Regions from separate parts of the Homo sapiens genome. Here all the other regions are linked to region 3. The links are contacts of gene promoters, found by promoter capture Hi-C in human tissues and cell types (Jung and others, 2019). All regions are on one chromosome and are shown on one strand. Each heading gives the region's core, a stretch centred on a gene start or on the middle of the fragment in contact. The rest is flanking DNA. Distances are from core to core; before and after follow the strand shown. Region 1 has its middle 3.6 kb from the start of SECTM1. Region 2 holds the start of CCDC57 (coiled-coil domain containing 57). Region 3 holds the start of WDR45B (WD repeat domain 45B).

Evidence for each region. The method cuts DNA at HindIII sites, captures the fragments that hold promoters and counts their contacts. A contact is called where the count stands out against the background at its distance.
Region 1: a contact is called between a fragment that was not itself captured here and the fragment with the promoter of WDR45B in region 3, in 1 of the 25 tissues and cell types used here (dorsolateral prefrontal cortex).
Region 2: a contact is called between the fragment with the promoter of CCDC57 here and the fragment with the promoter of WDR45B in region 3, in 1 of the 25 tissues and cell types used here (mesenchymal stem cells).

The regions. Positions count from the first base shown.
Region 1 is chr17:82,335,587-82,339,048 of GRCh38, reverse strand. No RefSeq gene overlaps it. Among named protein-coding and RNA genes, the nearest start is that of SECTM1, 3.6 kb to the right of the region's middle. The HindIII fragment of the contact is 4,127 bases long and covers 1-3,462 here.
Region 2 is chr17:82,211,462-82,214,539 of GRCh38, reverse strand. It overlaps CCDC57 (coiled-coil domain containing 57), which reads left to right and starts at 1,698. Exons shown (of 19, transcript NM_001394669.1): 1 at 1,698-1,755. RefSeq lists an enhancer at 345-1,287 and a silencer at 1,238-2,157. The HindIII fragment of the contact is 18,649 bases long and covers 1-3,078 here.
Region 3 is chr17:82,646,923-82,649,956 of GRCh38, reverse strand. WDR45B (WD repeat domain 45B) reads left to right here and starts at 1,513. Exons shown (of 10, transcript NM_019613.4): 1 at 1,513-1,683. The coding sequence starts at 1,617. RefSeq lists enhancers at 921-990, 1,369-1,868 and silencers at 1,281-1,350, 1,951-2,000, 2,011-2,060. The HindIII fragment of the contact is 22,392 bases long and covers 1-3,034 here.

The DNA.
Region 1 (3,462 bases), core at 319-2,818, 310 kb after region 3:
AGGTCAAGCCTAGTGCCACGGTGGATCCGGCCAGCCTCCTCCAACGTAGCCTCTCCTGCTTGTGGGGTCGAGGGTCTCATCAGTCCGGGCTCATCCCTGCCTTTGTGGCTCATTCTAACAGCTGCTTTCCGTGGCTCATTCTAACAGCTGCTTTCCATGGCTCATTCTAACAGCTGCTTTCCGTGGCTCATTCTAACAGTTGCTTTCTGTGGCTCATTCTAACAGCTGCTTTCTTGCTTTTCTGCAAGATTACTGTTTGATATTTCTCATTTCTCCTATGACCACCCAGCATTCCTATCTCATTGGCTAGGAAGGATTACTATTAAAAGTATTTTCTCTTTCTCTCTTTCTCTCTCTCTCTCTCTCTCTTTGAGGCAGGGTCTCGCTCTGTTGCTCAGGCTACAGTGCAGTGGCCTGATCTCGGTTCAATGCAGCCTCGACCTCCCAGGCTCAAGAGATCCTCCTACCTCAGCCTCCCAAGTAGCTGGGGCTACAGGCACTGGCCACCACGCCCGGCTCATTATTTTATTTTTGTGAAGATGGGTCTCACTGTGTTGTCCAAGCTGGTCTCAAATTCCTGGCCTCAAGAGATTGTCTCACTTCAGCCTCCCAGAGTGCTAGGATTACAGGCATGAGCCATCGCACCCAGCCCTAAAAATGCCATTCTTTCTAAAATTAAGCTATAACAGCTGGGCACGGTGGCTCACGCCTGTAATCCCAGCACTTTGGGAGGCCAAGGTGGGTAGATTATGAGGTCAGGAGTTAGAGACCAGCCTGGCCAACACGGCAAAACCCCGTCTCTACTAAAAATACAAAAATTAGCCAGGTGCACGCCTCTAATCTCAGCTACTAGGGAGATTGAGGCAGGAGAATTACTTGAACCCGGGTGGTGGAGGTTGCGTGAGGTGAGATCGTGCCATTGCACTCCAGCCTGGGCAACATAGTGAGACTCCATCCCCCCCAAATAAATAAATAAATAGAATTAAAATAAAGTGAAGCTATAAAGACAGTGAAATCCCAAAAGAAATACCAAGAAGATTGGCAAGTGAAGGGGCTCAGGGCAACATAACTGGATGTTCGAGGAGCACAGCCTTTTCAGGTGGAAAATAACAAGCTGGGTTGTGGATTCCACCAAAAGCAGAAACACATGCTGGGTAAGAATTTAAAATTAGCCTCATATTTTAAAACTTCCGAATATTATAAAATAGATAAATTAGAATTAGGTTAGCACAAGACAAGAACAAGAGCAACAAAACGACAAAGACTGAAGCAAACATTTTAGACTTTTTATCTGTGGTGCCTGCCTGTGGTGCCAGCTACTCAGAAAGCTGAGGCTGGAGGATCGCTTGAGCCCAGAAGGTCAGGGTACATTGAGCTACGATCCTGCCAGTGAACAGCCACTGCAAGCCAGCCTGGTCAACTACAGGAGACCCCATCTCTTAAAAAAAAAAAGCCTCCAAATATATGATTAAAAATTCCTAGAACCACAAGAAGAGGCTGCTAAGCCCCCACCATAGGAGGCCATTCCAACCTATCTCTCTTAATTACTGATAGCTCAAGCCCATACAAATTGACAAGTATATAAAAATACAAAAAATTAGCTGGGCGTGGTGGCGGGCGCCTGTAGTCCCAGCTGCTGGGGAGGCTGAGGCAGGAGAATGGCGTGAACCCGAGAGGCGGAGCTTGCAGTGAGCTGAGATCGTGCCACTGCACTCCAGCCTGGGCGACAGAGCGAGACTCCGTCTTAAAAAAAAAAAATTGACAAGTATATAAAAGACCTAACCTACCCCACTGACACCTTGACAGGAGGGACACCTGCAGAGACCCTTGCTCCCAACAGTCAGAGAATATTACATGTTGGAAGGACCCGTGAGACCCTTCCAGCCAGTGAGCAGTGGGTACAACTGAGTCATGCACAAATCTGTGGGGCCGGTTGGCTCGGCTCCCAGGAGGCTGCGAGTCTGTCCACGGGCCGAGGGCTTTGGGGGGCGGCCCCCAGGTGGCCGGGGGTGCGCGGGCAGAGTGAGCAGGACAGTGGGAGGGTCAGAGGCCCTTTCATAAAAGTGCGCAGAGCAGAGGAGCGATCCCCCTAGCTCCCCCACAGAGGGTGCTGCACCTGCGGCCCCTGCGGAGGTACTGGCTTGGCCAGCCCGGGAGGAGGGGCCCAGCCTGTTGGGACAGGAGATGGGGTGCAGGTGGAAGGCTCCAAGAGGCATCTGGGCTGGTAACGCGCAGACATCCCAGGTGGGTTGGAAGTGGGTCAAGGAGGCCTGGAGGACCCGGTGCCTGTGGGGGTGGCAGGCGGGCCACATCCTCCACTAGAACCCGAGGTGGCGGCGGGGTCAAGGATGACGAGTTATCTTCGGGACATTAGGAGGAAGCCCCACAGGCTGCAGTCACGTGGGTGGGCAAGGATGAAAGGCAAGGGAACCCAGAGAATCAAGTTACAAAGAAAAGCAAATGCCGCCAGCACAGTGGCTCACGCCTGTAATCCCAGCACTTTGGGAGGCCGAGGCGGGTGGATTGCCTGAGCTCAGGAGTTCAAGAAAAAAAAAGCCTGGCTAACATAGTGAAACCCGTCTCTACCAAAAATAAAATAAATAAATAAATAAAAGCTGGGCGTGGCGGCACGTGCCTGTAGTTCCAGCTACTCAGGAGGCTGAGGTAGGAGAATCGCTTGAACTAGGGAGGCGGAGGTTGCAGTGAGCCGAAATCGCACCACTGCACTCCAGCCTGGGCGACAGAGCAAGACTCTGTCTCCAAAAAAAAGAAAAGCAAATGCTCCAGGACCTTGGGGATTTTAAGAATATGCTGCCGAATAATTTGGAGAGTTAAACAGAAAATCATAACTGAAATCTACAAATTCCTCGAACAGAAAGGAAATGAAACTCCACATGTCACCTGGCACAGCAGAGGCTGTGATTCAAGGACAGGCTGAGGGTGAATGAATCCACACATCCGCTCTAAGATGCCTGATCCCAGCATTGTATAGAAATGGAAAGATACGGCCGGGTGCAGTGGCTCACGCCTGTAATCCAGCACTTTGGGAGGCCAAGATGGGCGGATCACAAGGTCAGGAGATCCAGACCATCCTGGCTAACACGGTGAAACCCCGTCTCTACTAAAAATACAGAAAAATTAGCTGGGCGTGGTGGCGGGCGCCTGTAGTCCCAGCTACTCAGGAGGCTGAGGCAGGAGAATGGTGTGAACCCAGGAGGCAGAGCTTGCAGTGAGCCGAGATTGCGCCACTGCACTCCAGCCTGGGCGACAGAGCGAGACTCCGTCTCAAAACAAAAAAAAGAAATGGAAAGATACTGCCCAGATGTGGTGGCTCACACCTGTAACCCCAGCACTTTGGGAGGCCAAGGCAGGCGGACCACCTGAGGTCAGGAGTTCGAGACCAGCTTGGCCAACATGATGAAATCCTATTTCTACTAAAACTACAAAAATTAGCTGGGCGTG
Region 2 (3,078 bases), core at 449-2,948, 440 kb after region 3:
TCACAGGTGTGAGCACTGTGCCCGGCCCACACATGGGTTCCCATAGATCCCACTTTACAGGCAGGGACACTGAGGCATGCAGAGCCGGGATACAGACCAAGCAAGTCCTGGCTCCTCTTCTGGGTGTCCCAGCCCGTCTCGGACACCCACGCTTACCCAGGCCTGGTGGCTGCATCGTGGACATGGGGGCAAGGCAGCTCTCTGGGTGGGCAGAGGCAGGAGCTGAGGCAAGGATGTGGGCATCCTTTTGGGTACATCTAGTCCTAGAGCTGATCCAGGGGCCAGTCAAATGTGCAGCCAAAGTCGGGTCAACCCCAGCACTGTCCTGTGGGTGGGGGTAGCAGGGAGCCAACAGTCCAGGCCCTACATCCTGTTCTAATAGAGTGACAAGTCTGATGAGGCTGGGGGTGCACAAGCACTGAGAAGGCAGCAGGACAGGGAGCCAAACACATGGGGTGGTGGGGGAAACCAGGGAGCTGGACACAGGGTGGGGGGGTCCTGGGAGTTGGACACATGGGCCAGGTTGGGGGTCCAGGGAGCTAGACACAGGGGGTGGGGAGGGGAGTCCAGGGGACTAGACACAGAGTGGGGGGTGGGTCCAGGGGGCTAGACACACAGTGTGGGGGGTGGGTCCAGGGAGCCGGACATACACATGGGGTGGGGAGGGGGCATCCAGGGAACCAAGTCTAGGCAGAGGCAACTGGCGCAAAGGACCTGAGGCAGAAGAGGGTTTGGTGTGTGAGGCGGGACTGAGGACTGTGGGCGAGGGAGACAGCTCTACCAGGACGCATGGTTCGGGGAGGACAGGCTGCAGGGTGCCTGGGCTGCAGGCACGGCACGGAGAGGAGTGATCCAGTGTTAACAATGTGGGTGGAGGATGACACCAGACCCCTGGCTTATTGCCCCACCAGGGGAATTCCCAGACACCAAACACCCCCTCCACTCCCACGCAGAATTGCGGGCTGAGGGTTCGGGTGAGCCAGGCTGCTCTGTCCCGGGGCCGGGCTCTGTTCATCCATCCGCAGATGGATACGGACACGTGCCTTTTTCTGAGGATGTGAATGGTTGGGAATGGCTGTGCCTGAGGATGTTGTTCCCACAGGATGGTGGGGGCGACTTCGGGCCTCGGTGGGTCCCGACCCCCCTCCTTCCCCCAGTTCCCTAATCAGGGTCTGAGCGACCGCGCGCACGGCCCCTGGGCCCCGCCGGTCTCCGAGCCCGTGGGCAGCGCCGGGAACTCGTGCCCCGGTGGCCGCAGCCGACCCTTAGGCAGGACTTCGTGGCGCCCCCGGCCCGAACAGACCCCCACGGGCAGCCTCGGCCGCCCCGTGCTCCCTTCATCTCAGGGCAAAAGCTCAAGTCAACCCTTCGGGACCGCGAGCCGGGCGGCCTCAGGAAGCGGGCGCCTGGGGACCCTCGGCCGGGCCGGGGGCGGCGAAGGTGGGGGCGCCTCGCGCGGCGGAACCCGCCGTCCCCATAGCCCGGAGCCCCGTCCGGAGTCGCCCCGCTGACCGGTGAGGAGGCCGGGCTCCCTCCTTCGATCTGCGGCGGTGGTCGGGTCGGCCGGGGCGCCCCTCGGACCCGGGCGCAGCGCGGAACCCGGCGGGGCGGGAGGGGCCGGAACCTAGCGCCAGGGACCCCGTTTCCTGTCGGCGGGACCCGAGCGCTGCACCGAGCGCAGCCGGACGCGGCCGACTGACCCGGTCGCTGTGGCAACGCGGCGGGACCTGGCCAGCGCTGCTGGCGGGCGTTAGGGTGAGGTGCGGGCGGGCGGCGTGGGAGGCGTGGGAGGCGTGGGGGGCGCCGCTCCGACCACTCTTCCTGTAGAAAACCCCAGCAGCTGCCGTCCTGTCGGACGCAGCGCTTTGGTGGGGACCTGGAGCGCGAGGTCGACCCTCAGAGCTCGGCCAGGCCCGGACCGGGGATCCCCTCGCGGAGGCTGCGGCGGGGCGGGGCGGGGGTTGCGGCCGCGTGGAGCGGGAGCGTTCCCTCGGTCTCCCGTGGGTGACCTGGGGCGGTGGGCGCTGCCGACCAGGGCCCCGCAGCCCCGGGAGAATTCCCCGGGTTCCGCCGCCGGCAAGGACGGCTCCGCGCCCAGGCAGCCTTACAGTGTCTGTGAGTTTAAAAAAAAAAAAAAAAAAAGAGAGGAAAAAAAAAGGCCGGAGGCGGTGGTTCGCGCCTGTAATCCAGCACTTTGGGAGGCAGAGGCGGGCAGATTGCTTGAGGCCCGGAGTTCGAGACCAGCCTGGCCAACATGGTGAAACCCCCTCTCTACTAAAAATACAAAAATTATTGGGCGTGGTGGTGCACGCCTGTAATCCCAGCTACTCCGGAGGCTGAAGCAGGAGAATCGCTTGAACCCGATGTTGTAACTGAGGGAGTTATAGAGAGAACGCCACACTCTGAGACTACTCAGGAGTCCTGTATTGCCAGCGACTGACAGACTGCTAGAGCTGCAAATTCCCTCGGCCCCGAAGAAGGGGCTAGATTTCTTTTGATACCTTGGTCTAAATAGAGGAGGGGAGGCTAGCTGAAGCGATTTTTTTACAGAAGCAGAATAGGCAAAAAGTTAAAAGATAAATGGTTACAGAAACAGTTACAGGAAAATAAACAGTTCCAGGTACAGGGGCTTAAATTATCACAAAGTGATAAACGCAGGGGCTTTGGGTACCATCAACCGAGCGCGTTCCCAGGAGCTGCTGGTACAGCTTGCTCCAGTTTCTTATCAGTATTTTATCAGTAAGCGCATTCCTGGATGTGCTTGGAGTCAGCTTGCCCCAGTTATGTCCTTAAGGGACGGGGACAAGGGGCTGCAAGCGAAGAAACCAAAATGGTGTCTGTCCGGCCCTCTCAGCTAAGAGAGAGTCAGTCAGGTTAAAACAAAGTAGGGTACCACACCGAGAGGCGCAGGTTGCGGAGAGCCAAGATCGCGCCATTGCACTCCAGTCTGGGAGACAAGAGCGAAACTCGGTCTCAAAAAAAAAAAAAATTATCTGTAACTTAGAAAAAGGATACAAAAGGAGCACAGATTTCCCGTGTGCCTTTTGCCCAGAGCCCCTAGAATGCTGACCTCTTAGA
Region 3 (3,034 bases), core at 264-2,763:
TGGCGAGGGTGGGATGAGGATGACAGACGGGGTGGAGGCAGGTGGCTGCGAGGGGACAGTGTCAGGACCTCCTAGGAGATCAGGTGTGCTGCAGGGAACAGGGAGAGCCTAGGAGGGGACAGGAAAGTGAGGAGGGGGAGTGGAGAGGACTCCCTGGGCAAGAGACACGAGGGCCAGCACTCAGGCCTCCACAGCCATCCACTGCATGAGCCAAGCCCAGGGACAAAGCTCTGTGACCAGGATGCCCCCAGCAGCCTGACCCTAAGAGTTGAGAACTGTGCCCTGTGAGCAATGTGACCTGAGGGTCCCGGAGTCCTGCGGGGGCTGTGCTGTGTGAGGGCCACCTGTCCTTTAGGTGGGGTACTAAGGGGTTGTGTCCTCTATGGGCTGTGTCGTGGGGGGGCTGTGTGTCCTCTGGGGGGCTATGTGTCCTGGGAAGGTCCCTGTGTCCTGGGAAGGTCTCTGTGACCTGGCGGTCTGTGTGTCCTGGGGGGGCTGTGTGTCTTAGGGGGACCTCTGTGTCTTCTGGGGGAATATGTGCCCTGGAAAGGACTCTGTGTACTGGGGGAGGCTGTGTGTCTTAGGGGGGCTGTGTCCTGGGGGGGTTTCTGTGTCCCGGGGGGGCTGTGTGTCCTGGGAGTGCTGTGTCCTGGGGGACCTCTGTGTCCTGGGGGCACTGTGTGTCCTGGGGGGACCTCTGTGTCCTGGAGACTGCGTGTCTTGGGGGTCCTCTGTGTCCTGGGGGGTCTCTGTCCTGGGGACTGTGTGTCTTGGGCACCCTCTGCGTCCTGCAGGAGCTGCGTGTCCTGGGGGGGCTGAGTGACTTGGGGGCCCTCTGTGTCCTGGGGGTCTCTGTCTCCTGAAGGGGGACCCTAGTATTGTGGCGCTTCTGGGCTTGCCTCTCATGAGGGATGATGCACCGGGCCTCAGTTTTGGGTCAGCCTCCTTTACCGGCTCTCCCCCCTTCCTCCGACCGTCAGGTATCCGTGCCAAGCCCTCAACGGGCCATCCTCCTTCCCGCGGCGACCCCGCGCATGACAAGGCCAGACCCTCCCGCGAACGTGCTCTGCGCTCCCGCCTGGCCCCTCCCCGCCCCGCCCCTCCCCCTCCTCCCCGCCCCGCCTCGCTCCGCCCCTCCCCGCCTCCGCCCCGCCCCGCCCGCCCTGCCTCTCCCCGCCTTTCCTCGCCTCGCCCCGCCCCGCCCCGCCCCCTCCTCCCCGCCCCGCCTCGCTCCGCCTCTCCCCGCCTCATCCCGCCCCGCCCGCCCTGCCTCTCCCCGCCTCATCCCGCCCCGCCCGCCCTGCCTCTCCCCGCCTTTCCTCGCCTCGCCTCGCCTCGCCCCGCCCCGCCCCTCCCCGCCCTGCCTCGCCTCGTCTCGCCTCGCTTCGGTTAGATGCGCTCGGCGCTCCATAGGCTCCCTGGTGGGGCGCGGGCGCGCGCACGGACGTCCAGCACGCACGCACGCACGTCCAGCACACACGCACATCCAGCACGCACGCACGTACGTCCGGCACTTCCGGCCGCGGCGGCCTCAGCGCCGGCCCGAAGGGACCAGGCCGCCGTCCCCAGCGAGAGGCATGCAGCGCTGAGGAGCGGCGACCCAGCACGGCGGCGCCATGAACCTCCTGCCGTGTAACCCTCACGGCAACGGGCTGCTCTACGCCGGCTTCAACCAGGACCACGGTGAGGAGGCGCGGCCCTGTCGCCTTGCCCGGCCGGGCCTTCCCGCAGCCCGGGGTCCCCGGCTCTCAGGCCTCTCCTGGGCGCCCCTTTCCGGCCAGGCCTTCCACCCGGGACCCCGGCCCCGCCCGAGCTCCCCTCCGAAGCCCCCGGCCCCGGCCCTCGCCGCTGCTCCCAGCCCGAGCCGGGGTCCGGACCAGGCCCGAACCGGCTCCCACCTTCCTGGCCTTTCGCGCTCCCCCACCCCCCGGGTTGTGACCGCTCCCAGCCGGCCGTCCCGGGCCGAGGTCGAGGTCGGTGGGAGACGGCACAGAACCCCAGCCTCCTGCGCGGACGCCCCTCCCCGCGCGCCACGCCCACTCGGGTTCCCTGGCTCCCTGCGGGCTCCACGGTTATCGGGATTTTCCCCACAGCGTGATTGACGCCCTGCCCAGAACCCCGTTTTGCCCCCTGTTCCTTTCAGGGTCTTTAGTAGGTAGCCCGTGGCTGAGCTGACTTCGCTTGGGTTTACTGGAGCCGCGGAGCCGGCGTCTCCGACGCCTCTGGTGGCGAGTGGCGCGGGTGGGGTGCAGGTCTCACCTTTCCCGTCGGTTTCCATCGGAAAATGTCACTCTCCCCACCCCCACTCCCCGGGATTTTTCTTCGTGTTTGGTGGAGTCAAAGGACTTAAGGGAGGCCTTTGAGGGAAATCTTACTTCTTTTCCCATGTCGGAATCCAGGTGTAAGCACTGGATGATTTAAAGCGCCCAGGGAAGGTGACCTCCTTCCCCGCAGGTGCTTCGGAGCTGCGGGGGATGCGGCCGGGGCGGCGCGGTCGGATTCCCGCGGGAGGCGGGCGGGACCTGGATTCGGATGGTTGCCTCCTCACCTCCCATTTGAAGGGCGCGCTTCCCAAAGGTCCTGATGGGGAGGAAAAGGAATGTCCGTTATTCCGAGACAGGCTTCTGCGAGGCTTTACATGTTGGCTTTGGAAGTTTTGTTTTTGAAGAGAATCCAGGCAGGTGCTGTATGATCCCGTATATGTGAAGACAATTTTATTTATTTATTTATTTCATTTTGAGACGGAGTCTCATTCTGTCGCCCAGCCTGGTGCGATCTCGACTCACTGCAACCTCCTCCTCCCGGGTTCACGCCATTCTCCTGCCTCAGGCTCCTGAGTAGCTGGGATTACAGGCGCCTGCCTCCACGCCCGGCTACTTTTTGTATTTTTAGTAGAGACGGGGTTTCACCATGTTGGCCAGGCTGGTCTCAATCTGACCTCAGGTGATCCACCCGCCTCGGCCTCCCAAAGTGCTGGGATTACAGGCGTGAGCCACTGCGCCCGGCCGGATTACACATATTTGAAAGAACTCCC